2 separate regions of the Homo sapiens genome follow, and region 2 is linked to region 1. Evidence: promoter capture Hi-C in 16 types of primary human blood cells and fetal thymus (Javierre and others, 2016). All regions are on one chromosome and are shown on one strand. The core of a region is centred on a gene start or on the middle of the fragment in contact, and the rest is flanking DNA. Distances in the headings are between cores, read along the strand shown.

Region 1 (6,328 bases), core at 3,825-6,324:
ACTGAGTTTGTGCTTTTTTTTGAATTAATAATCTTTCATCCTAATTTCTATTCCAGGGAAAGGTGATGGAGAAAATATCGGAGTCTTGGAGTTTCGGTAGCTTCTCTATTCTTGTTTTTTTTTTTTTAGATAAGAGTCTTGCTGTGTTGCCCAGTCTGGAGTGCAGTGGTGCAATCTTGGCTCACTGCAGCCTCCACCCCCCGAGTTCAAGCATTCTCCCGTCTCAGCCTCCCAAGTAGCTGGGACTACAGGTGCCACACCACCAGACCTGGCTAATTTTTGTATTTTTAGTAAAGACGGGGTTTCACCATGTTGGCCAGGCTGGTCTCGAACTCCTGACCTCAGTTGATCTGCCCACCTTGACCTCCCAAAGTGCTGGGATTACAGGTGTGAGCCACCACACCCGATCTCTTTTCTTACCTTTATACCAGAGCTTATTGGTCTCCATATGAATCACTGGCTCTGTATCAGTCTGCCTCCAAACTGTTCTCCCCACGACTATTCATTCCCCTCCCCTTTCTCCCGCAAATGTGTGGTCATGATTCCCTAAGCTGAGGGATTTATTTTGCGATGTTTTCCAAACTCTTTTTTCTTTGGAGGACGTCTTGAAGTGGGTTGTGTTGTTGAACTTATGTTGATAAATGCAGCATTATGTTGGAGAATGCTGAACTTATGTTGGAAAATGCTGACTCTGAATACCAAGATGGTTATTATTTTATCTGTGAATGAAATATTCCAGGCATTTCTCAGTTTCCCGTGCTCTCTGAAAAAGCAGTGCAGTTATAAAGGGTTAGCAGACTTTTTTTCAAGTTATTGAATTACGGAATTAACAATTCTCGTATATATTAACTCACTTATCTTCACAAAAACCCATGAAATGGGTACTATTATTATTATTTATCATTATTAGTTTTTTGAAACAGAGTATTGCTCTGTCACTGAGGCTATAGTGCAGTGGTGCAATCTTGGCTCACTGCAACCTCCTCCTTCCAGATTCAAGCAATTCTCATGCCTCAGCCGCCTGAGTTGCTGGGATTACAGGCATGAGCCACCACCCTTGGCTAATTTTTGTATTTTTCTTAGAGACAGGGTTTCACCATGTTGGCCAGGCTGGTCTTGAGCTCCTGGCCTCAAGTGATCCACCTGCCTCAGCCTCCCAAAGTGCTGGGATTACAGGTGTGAGCCACCACGCCCGGCTGAGATGGGTATTATTATTATCTTTGCTTACGGATAAGGACATTGAGGCACAGGGGCATTAAATCAATTGCCAAAGGTCACACAACCATTAGTGGTAGAACTGAGATTTGACCTGGGTAGTTTGGCTCCACAGCCTGGGCAGGCAACCACTGCCTTTTGCAGCATGTCTATCAGCATGCTATGTGAGCTTGGGAAAATCATCTTATTTCTCTGTACTTAATTTAATTTATAATAAAATGGGGATAATAATATGTACCCTAACTCCCTCCCTGAGTGATTGTGAGATATCAGGACAAAACAAAGTTATAAAAGTGCAGTAAAATTCAGTATGGCTATTCAAACATTCAAACGAGGAAATACATTAGATGGCTTATTTCTTTAATTACAAGGAGTTTAAAGCCACAATTATCCAATTGCCCTTTATCTGTGCTTCATTATAAATATCCTGTTCCTCTTTTTAAAGGAATAGATATACTTTTAATTTTTTTTTTTTTTGAGACATGTCTCTCTCTGTCACCCAGCCTGGAGTGCAGTGCCGTGATCATAGTTCACTGCAGCCTCAAAATTCTGGGCTCAAGCAATCCTGCACCGCAGCCTACTGAGTAGCTGGGGACTGCATGTGAGCACCACTATACCTGGCTAATTTTTTTTTTTTTTTTGAGACGGAGTCTCGCTCTGTCACCAGGCTGGAGTGCAGTGGCGCAATCTCGCCTCATTGCAACCTCTGCCTCCCGGGTTCAAGCAATTCTCACTGCAGCCTCCACCCCCTGGGTTCAAGCAATTCTCCTGCCTCAGCCTCCCAAGTAGCTGGGATTACAAGCACACACCACCACGCCCAGCTAATTTTTGTATTTTTAGTAGAGACGGGATTTCACCATGTTGGCCAGGATGGTCTCGATCTCCTGACCTCATGATCCACCTGCCTCAGCCTCCCAAAGTGCTAGGACTACAGGCGTGAGTCACTGCACCTGGCTCGATTTATGTATGTTTTGTAGAAATGGGGTGTCACTCTGTTGCCCAAGCTGACAAAGAATTCTTATTATTATTATACTTTAAGTTTTAGCGTACATGTACATAACGTGCAGGTTTGTTACATATGTATACATGTGCCATGTTGGTGTGCTGCACCCATTAACTCGTCACTTAGCATTAGGTATATCTCCTAATGCTATCCCTCCCCGTTCCCCCACCCCACAACAGTCCCCGACAAAGAAATTTTAACACAGTTGAAACTGTACAACTATGGAAGGTGCCACCTTGGGAATGTCTGGAAAAACTAAAAAAGTTAAAATGGCAAAAACTCCAAAAATTATTGGGTGTCCTGTGGCATGCTAGGCCTTATCTAAAGCACCTTTCTGGATTACCTGATTTTTTAGTGATTTTTGCCTTATAAAATCTTGCAGCTATTTTCCAACTTGGTAAGTTGTAGAAAATTCATAGGAATGCCAATGATTCTTGTCCATAGAGATGCCTGGTAGAAGTGCAATTGCTCTCCCAGCACCCCGAGGCCAGTTCTGCATTTATTATTTATTTTTATTAAAAATATAATTTTTAAGACAGAGTTTTGCTCTGTGGTCCAGGCTGGAGTGCAGTGGTGTGATCTCAGTTCACTGCAACCTCTGCTTCCCAGGTTCCAGAGATTCTTCTGCCGCAGCCTCCCGAGTAGCTGGGATTTGTAGGCGTGCACTATCACGCCCGGCTAATTTTTTGTATTTTTAGTAGAGATGAGGTTTCAAGATGTTGGCCAGGCTGGTCTTGAACTCCTAACTTCAAGTGATCTGCCCGCCTCAGCCTCCCACAGTGCTGGGATTACAGGCATGAGCCACTGCACCCGGCCAGTTGTGCATTTATTAACATGTTCGTTTCAGCATTCCTGATTGCCTATATATGTGTGTACACTTTGTGTTTTCCTCTGGACAGGGCTAGCTTTACTGGTCTCCTCATTCATTAATGAATTAAAGTCTTTGATGTGTGTGCATTTTATATTTGTAGAGGAGTCATGATTTTACTCTTTTCAAAACAATTATCCTGTAACAGGAACCCTCTGAGCAGAGGCAGACAGGCCACCCTTGATTCCTGCTGTGGAAAGAGAATTTTTTACTCCAGACCCCAATGGTCCTTTTCAGATTCCTAACGTGAAGGGTTGTTCATATCTCGGCCTCTCGCGGAAGACTCTATTTTCTTGAAGCGCGGGGAACTACGTATTCCCACTAACAAAAATCTGTTAAGGGGCAGGGCGCAGTGGCGCACGCCTGTAATCCCAGCCCTTCGAGAGGCCGAGGCGGGCGGATGGCTTGAATACAGGAGTTCCAGACCAGCCTGGGCAACATGGCGAAACCCTATCTCTACGAAAAAAACACAAAAATTAGCCGGGCGTAGTGGCGCACGCCTGTAATCCCAGCTACTTGGGAGGCTGAGATGGGAGGATGGGTTGGGCCCAGGGGATCGAGGCTGCAGAGAGCGGTGATCGCGCCACTGCACTCAACTTGCGCAACAGAATGAGACTCTGTCTAAAAAACAAACAAACAAACAAACAAACAAACAAACAACCCCCAAACTCCCCAAAAATGTGTTAGGGGAAGGAGGTGGGACAGTGTGTATTTCTGATCTACTCGCCTTTCCTAGTATGACCACCAGGGGGCGCGGAAGCCCTCCTGGTACTAAGGCGGGGACAACCTGCCCAGCGAGCACAGCGGGCAGAAGGAAGTGTGCCGGACGCGAGAGAGAACTACGGCCGAGACCCGCGGGGCCGGCTCAAAGCCCGACCTCTGCCATACGCACCGTATCTTTATGGGAGCCGATGAGGTCAGCAGGGAGCACGCGTTCAGATGGCAGAAGAGGGCAAAGTACTGCTAGAATTACAAAGATATTTACAGCTTTTTAACCTGAAAGCACAGAGCAGATCCTATTCTTCAGAATTAAATCTTCGGCTCGCCAGTCCCGTTTATGGATCTCCACTCTGATGAATGTGCCATTTGTTCCCAAGAAGACAAATAGGGTAGGGAGAAGAGGGAGAGGCGGGGAGAAGACTCGAGATAAAGGGACGATCTGCTTTTCGGAAGCAGAAGCCGCCTGGGAACCACCTGCACACCAAGCAGGCTGCGAGGACGGGGAGCGCTCCAGTGCAAAGTTCTGTATTTTAAAGCCCCTCCTCGCTCACAGGCTTCACAGCGAACTACGAAGTGGGTACCATCTCTGATTTACAGACACGGGAACGGGGTCCTCTTGAGAAACGATGCTTTCCCAAACGTCTGCAAATTGTGAGTGCCAAGTGTCTCCACTGGCACTAACAACATCGAGCTGCTTACGTTTCTCGGAGCGGTCCCGATTTCCAACAAGCAAAAGATCCAAATTCTCTGACCACCCTGACCGTCCTGTATCTCCAGATCTCCAGGTCTTTCCTCTGGACACCTCCTCCATCCCCCCACTTTCACTGCCAGCAGCCCTGAGGCTGCGCGGGATCCCGCTACTCGGAATGCCTTCCTCCTGGCGGGATATTTTTAGAACACTCGACTGCCACCCAATGTAGCCCACATCACATTGTCTTATTTGTTTTCGGGAGCTTGTCCCCGCCTAGCAAGGAGTCGGCTAAGAACTGGATCCTAGCGAGGAGCCCGGCACAGACAGCGAATGACCGCAGCCAGACAGTCGCTCTTGCTCTTCCTCGGCCCTGCGGCAGGATCCGCCGGTGCAGGGGCCTCTCCCCGGACTCCACGCGTGTCTGGAGGGCTCTCGGGTTAGGGAAGGGGGCTTTGGAGACGCCCCGGGCGGCCGGGCGGTGGCGGGACGCGGGCCCTTTAAGAAGGAGCGAGGGGCGCGGCCAGGTAGGGGCGGGTCCAGGGCGGATCAGCGCTGCGCCGGCGCCGGCCCGGGAGCCGGATTTGGAGCGCGAGGCGCCGGTGGGGGCGGAGGGGGCTGCGCGGCGGAGGCTCCCGTGGCCTCGGACGCTCCTCCTAGCTAGCGGCCGCCGCCCGCCGCCGCCTGCGCCTCCAGCTCCTTCGCCCCGGCGGGCCCGGCCGCCGCTTCCGGCAGCTCACCTGGGAAGCGCTCACCTGGGACGCGCTCACCTGGGACGCGCTACCTGCCTCCGGGCGCCTGGGCTTCAGGATGAAGGACCGTCTGGAGCAGCTGAAGGCCGTGAGTTTCGCCGCAGGCGGGGTGCTGCCAGGAGGGGTGCTGCATGGGAGAGGGGCTTCCCTTTGCTCCCCAAGTCGAGGCTGGAGGGGGGCCCGAGCCGGAGGCTTGCCCTCCCCAAGCCCCCACCGCTTCCCGCGCCGGTTCCGCACCCTCCCCTCCCCTCCCCTGCGGGGTCATGTGCCCGGTGATTCATCGCTAGGCAATGATTTTCCTGAACGCCTCTAACTCTCCCACCCCGCAAGCTGGACAGTGTCTGTCCAGAGCTGGTTCCCGAAGCGGGTGCTTGGGCCCGGGAGGTCAGGGGTCCCTTCACCACCTGCCCACTGCTGCCTGGCACTATGCCCAGGACCAGCCTCCTTCTCCCTTTCCTGTTTCTCTCCTGAGGTGCTACAGGCCTGGCTGCCCCTTCCCCCAGGGAGCAGCTCAGAGCTCTCTGGTGACCTCTGGAGCTGTGAGCCGGTCACATGCTGGGATGGGTCAGCTCCTCTCCAACCGGTGGTCTGTAATTGTTATCCCCGGGTGTCATTGTCCCCCCCTCCCCCGCCGTATCTTTTGGAACAGCTGTGGTTAGGTCAAAGGATCTGAAGGTAGACTACCTCCAGCCTTGGCTGCGCAAAAGCTGTAAAGCCTTAGGTTACTTACTGTGAGTCTCTGTTTCCTTATCTATCAAATGGGAATGATCATACCCTAGGAATTTGTTGGGAGGATCAGCTGATACAATGGAACTTGATACAGAAAAGGGTTAACGCATAGGGTTTTAAGCCAGATATTCATTGACTCATTCAGTACATAATTATTGAGTGTATTCTATGGGGAGGTCCAGTGCTAAGCCTTGGAGATTCAGTGGCACAGGTTCTACCTTAATAGAATTAAAATCTAGCCCTTGACACTCAAGAGTTTAGTCCATCTACTTTGGAGCTTGTTACAAGTGTAGCAGCTTAGGCCTGAGTCTAGCCCCGCAGAATCAGAATCTAATTATTCATCCATTTCCCCA
Region 2 (6,420 bases), core at 1,294-3,793, 190 kb after region 1:
TTCCCAAAGCTTTAGGATTAAAGGCGTGAGCCACTGCTTCCTGCCTGGGCTGTCAATTTCTAAGGTTAAGATTTCGGAATTGCAGTGAAAGGTTGTGTATACTTGTCAAGCTACCCGTTCAACAAGACAACCTAGACCTGACATGGGTACATGTTAGAATCTTAGTGTATTCATTATGCTTTCTTTTATTAGGAACTATTTAAAATGGATAACTAAGTTTAAAAAAGCAGGTAACTATAAGGAATAATATCAATATTCACTGACCTGCTCTTCAGCTTTATTAAATCCATAATTTGCTACATTTGCTTACATTTTATTTTCTAATAGAAGTAAAAGTTCAGGTAGAGTTGAAGTCCCTGTGGTCATTCCTGATCCTATTCTCTTCCCTCTTTGCCCATATGTGAGTTTGGTAATTATTCATTTTCCTGTGTGTTTTACAATTTTACGTCAAATTTGTGGATCTGTAAATATGTTTCGCAGGCATTTATCTTCTATTTCTATTTAATTCTACAGCTTTTTTGTTGTCCATCACTTGGAGATTTACATTTGTAGCTTTGGTATATTTTAATTACTATTTAGCAGTCCAGTGAATAAATGCATTGCAAATTGTTTCTGTTCTCACATTGATAGAATTTTTCTAGTGTGGGGCCGTTACAAATAATGTTTGTATTTGAGTGGTTTCTTTTTGTGTGTGCATATCTAGGAATGGGACTGTGAGGCCACAGGTACAGATCTGAAAAGTAACTCTCTTGCTCAATTGTTCTTTAATTCTAATTGGTGCTCACAGATGTCTTACTTTTTGCTAATGTGGATATGAATAACTGGTTTTACATTTAAGGAACGTCTTATTTTTAGGTAATTGTAGATTCACATGCAGTGTAAGAAATAATACAGAGATCAATTATACTATTTATTCAGCTTCACACAATGGTAACATCTTGCAGAAATATAATACAGTATTACATTGGGATATTAATATTGATGTAGCCAAAGGACAGACATTTCTATTGTAATCAGGATGCCACTTTTAGAGCCACTTCTACTTTCCTCCTGAACCACTAATGCCAAACCTTCTGTCTCCGTTTTCCTTAATTTTTGTCAAGCACAGATCTGTTCTCCATTTCTACAATTTTGTCATTTCAAGGGTGTTATATAAATGGGCTCAGAGTTTGTAACCTTTTGGAATTGGCGTTTTTTTTCACTCAGTGTAATTCCTTGAAGATTCATCCAAGATGTTGCGTGTATCAACACTTGATTCTTTTTATTGCTGAGTGGAATTCCATGGCATGATTGTACCATGGTTTGTTTAACCATTCACCCACCAAAAGACATCTGGGCTGTCTTCAGTTTTTGACTATTATAAATGAAGCTATTGTTAGCATTTATGTACTTTTTTTTTTTTTGAGACAGAGTCTAGCTTTGTCGCCCAGGCTGGAGTGCAGTGGCACCATCTCGGCTCACTGCAACCTCTGCCTCCCAGGTTCACATGATTCTCCTGCCTCAGCCTCCTGAGTAGCTGGGATTACAGGCACGTGCCACCATGCCTGGCTAATTTTTGTATTTTTTGTAGAGATGGGGTTTTACCATGTTGATCAGACTGGTCTTGAACTCCTGACCTCGTGATCCACCCGGCTCGCCCTCCTAAAGTGCTGGGATTACAGGAGTGAGCCACCTCGCCCAGCCCATTTATGTACATTTTATGTGAACATACATTTTTATTTCCCTGGGATAAATGCCGAAGAGTTTAATTGTTGAGTCATATGGTTGTTGTATGTTTAGTTTTTAAAGAAATTGACAAACTGTTTTCTAGTGTGGTTGATACATTTCACATTGTCCCAGCAATGTATGAGTGACCCAGTTTCTCGGCATCCTCACCAGCGTTTGGTGTCTTCACTATTATTCATCTTAGCCATTGTGATAGGTGTGTAGTAATATCGTGATTTGAATTTGGATTTCCATAATGGCTGATGATATTAAACATCTTTTCATATAGTTATTTGCAATATGTATAGCCCCTTCTGTGAAAGGATTGCAGATTTATATTCCTTTGGTTTCTCCGCTGAGTTTTCAGTATCTCCTGAGAACTCAGGCTCCTTCTAGTATCTTAAGAGCAACTGATAAAATTTTCCTTTAGTGAAGTCTAGAAGAATAGCCAAACTTACTCTTAAAAAATCAAAAACAAAAAAACTCATGCCTACCCAGTCTCATAATTTCTAGTTTGATCTAATTCTCTTTCCCTGGGACCTAATTCAAGCAGCAGATTGTATCAGAAAATTATTTCCATTTCCAGAGTAAAAAAACTTAATGTCCAGATATTTCAAGATAGAAGGGAAAGGATAGCACTGTTTTTACTCAATTTCTATAAAAGCCTGCTTGCTAGCTTGAGTTTTGTGGACAAGTCTTTATATATCATGAAACTGTGGGTATAAAAATGGAAACTGCTTGCTTCCATAGAAATGGAAGGGCTTGCGTCAAAGAGCTTCAGTTGAACAAGGGAGACAGAAAATGCTCTATACTTAGTATAAACATTATAATATAGATATAGTCTTGTGATTCTAGCTCTACAATAAGTGACTTTGGAGGGTTAGATGAAATCTTATTTTGTATTGATTTTTTCCCCCCTATATATAGATTCACTAAAGAATGTATTTGAAGAATGAGTATATGTGTGGATATTTTTAGGGGATGAAGTAATAATTCAGAGACCATGTTTTGCAAACTTGTTCACCTCTTAAGACATTTTGTTTTAGTAAGGGATGATCTCTTCATTTGTATTAACAGGGTATGCTAAATTTTTTTGAGCTGATCTATGTAATTGCATACTAACAAAATTTCTTTTTCCTGCTTTTCAGCTATTCAAGTACACTGCACCCAGTTTTGGTTCTTTGCCAGGATTAAACCCACGATATTTTACAATTTGTATGTGAACCCCGATGAAGTGTTTCTAGGAGATGGCTGCCATGTAACCCATGTTTTGCCAAATGTCTACTATGAGTTTTTCTACCATCCTCATGACTGTGGTATTGTAACTCAAGTAAGAAATGGCTATCTTACTTAAAACCCAAGTGTCCAGGTGTGTGATGTTCCCCTTCCTGTGTCCATGTGTTCTCATTGCTCAATTCCCACCTATGAGTGAGAACATGTGGTGTTTGGTTTTTTGTCCTTGCGATAGTTTGCTAAGAATGATGGTTTCTAGCTTCATGGGGCCTGTTGTGGGGTGGGGGGAGGGGAGAGGGATAGCATTAGGAGATATAACTAATGTTAAATGACGAGTTAATGGGTGCAGCACACCAACATGGCACATGTATACATATGTAACAAACCTGCACGTTGTGCACACGTACCCTAAAACTTAAAGTATAAAAAAAAAACCAACAAAAAAACCCAAGTGTCTTATGGTTCCTTCAACATACCTACAAACTAGAAGTCATTAAGTGTCTATTTGTAATATGGCTAGACTCTTTAATGATCACATTTAGGACAGAAGCAGTTAAGAAAGGAGATGCTAAATGCTTTTCTCTTGTTAGGTGGTAATTGCAAACACTAATTATTCATTTAGTGATGGAGCAGGCGGGAGAGTTGAAGGTTTTGAAGGAAGAAAGTATTTTCCATGCATCAGAAAGTTTTTCAACAGTTTCTCTAACTAATTATTTATTATAATTCATGAAGTTTGGTCAATTGCGACCAGAATGAGGGAGTAACACTAATCAAGCATCAGAAGCCTTTTCAAAGTAAATATTCAGTGATCTCCCAGCCCTAGCCCCTACTCACCAGATATTTTGGGTTAACTAAGTCATTGTGCATATCACTGATAAAAGTATAACTGGAATTTTGACTTAATTTAAAAAGTTTTTAAAGTTAGTAAAATCTTGCTATGATATTACTTATTTTTTTCATTATCCCAAATAAAACGCTAAAAGAAGTAATAGAACTTGATCAGGTTTAGATAAATTCCACAGATTGGGTAACACAGAAAGCAAAAGCAAAATTTGAGGTAGAGTTGAGTGTGCGGAATATTTATTAAGAAGTGTTTTTGGGAGAAAGAAGATTGGGCAAAGGGCAAAGCTGAGCTGTGATGCAGGCTTAGAGACAGCTTTGGCTGACCCTGCACAGGGCTTCACATTCCTGCTGGGTAGGTGATCAGAAGTGGGCCACCCTGGGAGAGGGGTGTGGCCAGGGGTAAGACAGCCCTCAGCAGCTACATAATTCCTGGAGGGGGTGAGAGCTGAAGGCTGAAGGCTATCTGGTAACAGCATTCCTAGCAGCTGGGTCAACAAGCCCTTAGGGGATCTGGGAAGCACATTACAGGTCTAATACACCACAGCAGGTATTAGGGGGGCACTATCAACCTTGATATAAACTGCGGGGGGGGGGCAGGGAATATTCAAATGTTAACTGAATAATCTGGGTGGTGGTAGTATGTTAATTTCATTTTATCTATGCTTATATTTTCAAATTATCCAATGAGAGCAGGATATATCTGAGACGGGAACATTTAAAATTATGTAATGAATATGGGTATCTCTGAATCATCATATCCTCCTATGCTGTCAAAGATTGGGCCTTATATTGAGAACCATATGCTAAATGTTCTTAGAAAAATATTTTACTATTAATTGTCTTAACTCCATTCCACCCCACCCCCCTGAAAACAGCTATACTTCCTGTTAGGTATTTACTATATGCTGATAACTTAATCACTATTATTCTTTACCACCATAATTATTGCTTTTTTTAGAAATAAGAAAACAGACTTAATTGTTTAAACACGGTTTCCAAGGATTCATGATGAATAGAGGCAGCTCCAAGATTCCAAATGTGATTCATATGATCTCAAAGCCCATGCTCGCTTTGAATAAGCAATGTATCACTACAACTGTGTGTCTCAAAAAGAGGTGTCAATTGCTTTCTTGAATGTGAATCACAAAGCTCCTTTCTCTTTTAACTAACAAGTATTGCTTGCCTTTTATGTGCAAGCACTGTGCCAGATTTTAACCCATCTGTCAGTTTGGAAAATGGTCCTGTTTCCTGTGAACAGATGCTATTTATAGTTGAGTGAGAGTGTGACCATTTTTAGAAAGCTTGATGTATCTATAAATTCCTATTTAAATGCCTGTAAGTTTCCTGAGATACTTGAGACAAACATGGGTTTAAAACCTCTCTTTGTCTTGTAGCCTCTCCAGGAAGTTCTTCTGCTTAAAACTAAAATCAGGTATATCTCAAGAGACTCTACTGTCCGATCTGAAATGCCTCTGTCGTGTGTCGTCCACAAGTGAGTATGGAATGCCAAACCCCTGTCCTAGCCCCTGGCTTCATTTACTGTCCAGACAAAAATGCCAAACCTGAAAGGTTAAATGGTACAACCAGTGATGGGAGTTGGGGAGACACCAAACCCTAATGGGAACACAGATCTCTTGATCCTTGGTGTCTTAGTCCTCTGTTGCATTGCTATAAAGAGAAATGCTGGCTGGGCACGGTGGCTCACACCTGTAATCCCAGCACTTTGGGAGGCCGAGGTGGGAGGATCATGAGGTCAGAAGATCGGGACCATCCTGGCTAACACGGTGAAACCCTGTCTCTACTAAAAATACCAAAAAAAAAAAAAATTAGCTGGGCATGGTGGGGGGTTGCCTGTAGTCCCAGCTACTTGGGAGCTTGAGGCAGCAGAATGGCGTGAACCCAGGAGGCAGAGCTTGCAGTGAGCTGAAATCGTGCCATTGCACTCCAGCCTGGGTGACAGAGCGAGACTCTGTCTCAAAAAAAAAAAAAAAAAAAAAAAAAAATGTCAGAGACTGGGTAATTTATAAGAAAAGAAGTTTAATTGGCTCATTGTTCTGCAAGCTGTGCAGGAAGCATGGCTGGGGAGACCTCAGAGTTTTTACTCATGGCGGAAGGCAACGGAAGGCAACAGAAGGCAAAGCTGGAGCAGGCATACTCACGTGGCTGGAGCAGGAGGAAGTGGTCGGGGGAGGTGCTGCACACTTTTAAAAAACCACATCTCCCGAGAACTGTATCATGAGACCAGCACCAAAGGGATGGTGCTAAACTAGGGGTCCATAACCCCTGAGCCATGGACATGCAGTGGTCCCTTGCCTGTCAGGAACCTGGCAGCACAGAAGGAGGTGAGCAGCAAGCCAGCATTACCACCTGAGCTGTACCTCCTCTCAGATTAGTAGTGGCATTGGATTCTCATAGGAGCACGAACCCTATTGTGAACTTCGCATGTGAGGGATCTAGGTTGCGCACTCCTTATGAGAATCTAATGCCTGGTGATCTGAGGTGGAACAGTTGCATCCCCAAACCATCACCCCCTATCAGTGCAAAAATTGTCTTCCACAAAATTGGCCCCTGGTGCCAAAACGTTTGGGGACTGCCGTGCTAAACCATTCGTGAAGGGTCCACCTCCGTGACCCCATCACC

The links. The method cuts DNA at HindIII sites, captures the fragments that hold promoters and counts their contacts. A CHiCAGO score of 5 or more calls a contact.
Region 2: a contact is called between a fragment that was not itself captured here and the fragment with the promoter of STX3 in region 1, in 1 of 17 cell types (neutrophils). The highest score is 5.3, in neutrophils.

The regions. Positions count from the first base shown.
Region 1 is chr11:59,750,302-59,756,629 of GRCh38, forward strand. It overlaps STX3 (syntaxin 3), which reads left to right and starts at 5,075. Exons shown (of 11, transcript NM_004177.5): 1 at 5,075-5,334. The coding sequence starts at 5,305. RefSeq lists enhancers at 3,505-4,005, 3,695-3,989, 3,755-4,049, 3,986-4,145 and a silencer at 5,016-5,275. The HindIII fragment of the contact is 11,536 bases long and covers 1-6,328 here.
Region 2 is chr11:59,939,995-59,946,414 of GRCh38, forward strand. It overlaps OOSP1 (oocyte secreted protein 1), which reads left to right. Exons shown (of 5, transcript NM_001395276.1): 2 at 2,853-3,034; 3 at 5,175-5,272. Among named protein-coding and RNA genes, the nearest start is that of OOSP1, 4.8 kb to the left of the region's middle. The HindIII fragment of the contact is 5,072 bases long and covers 8-5,079 here.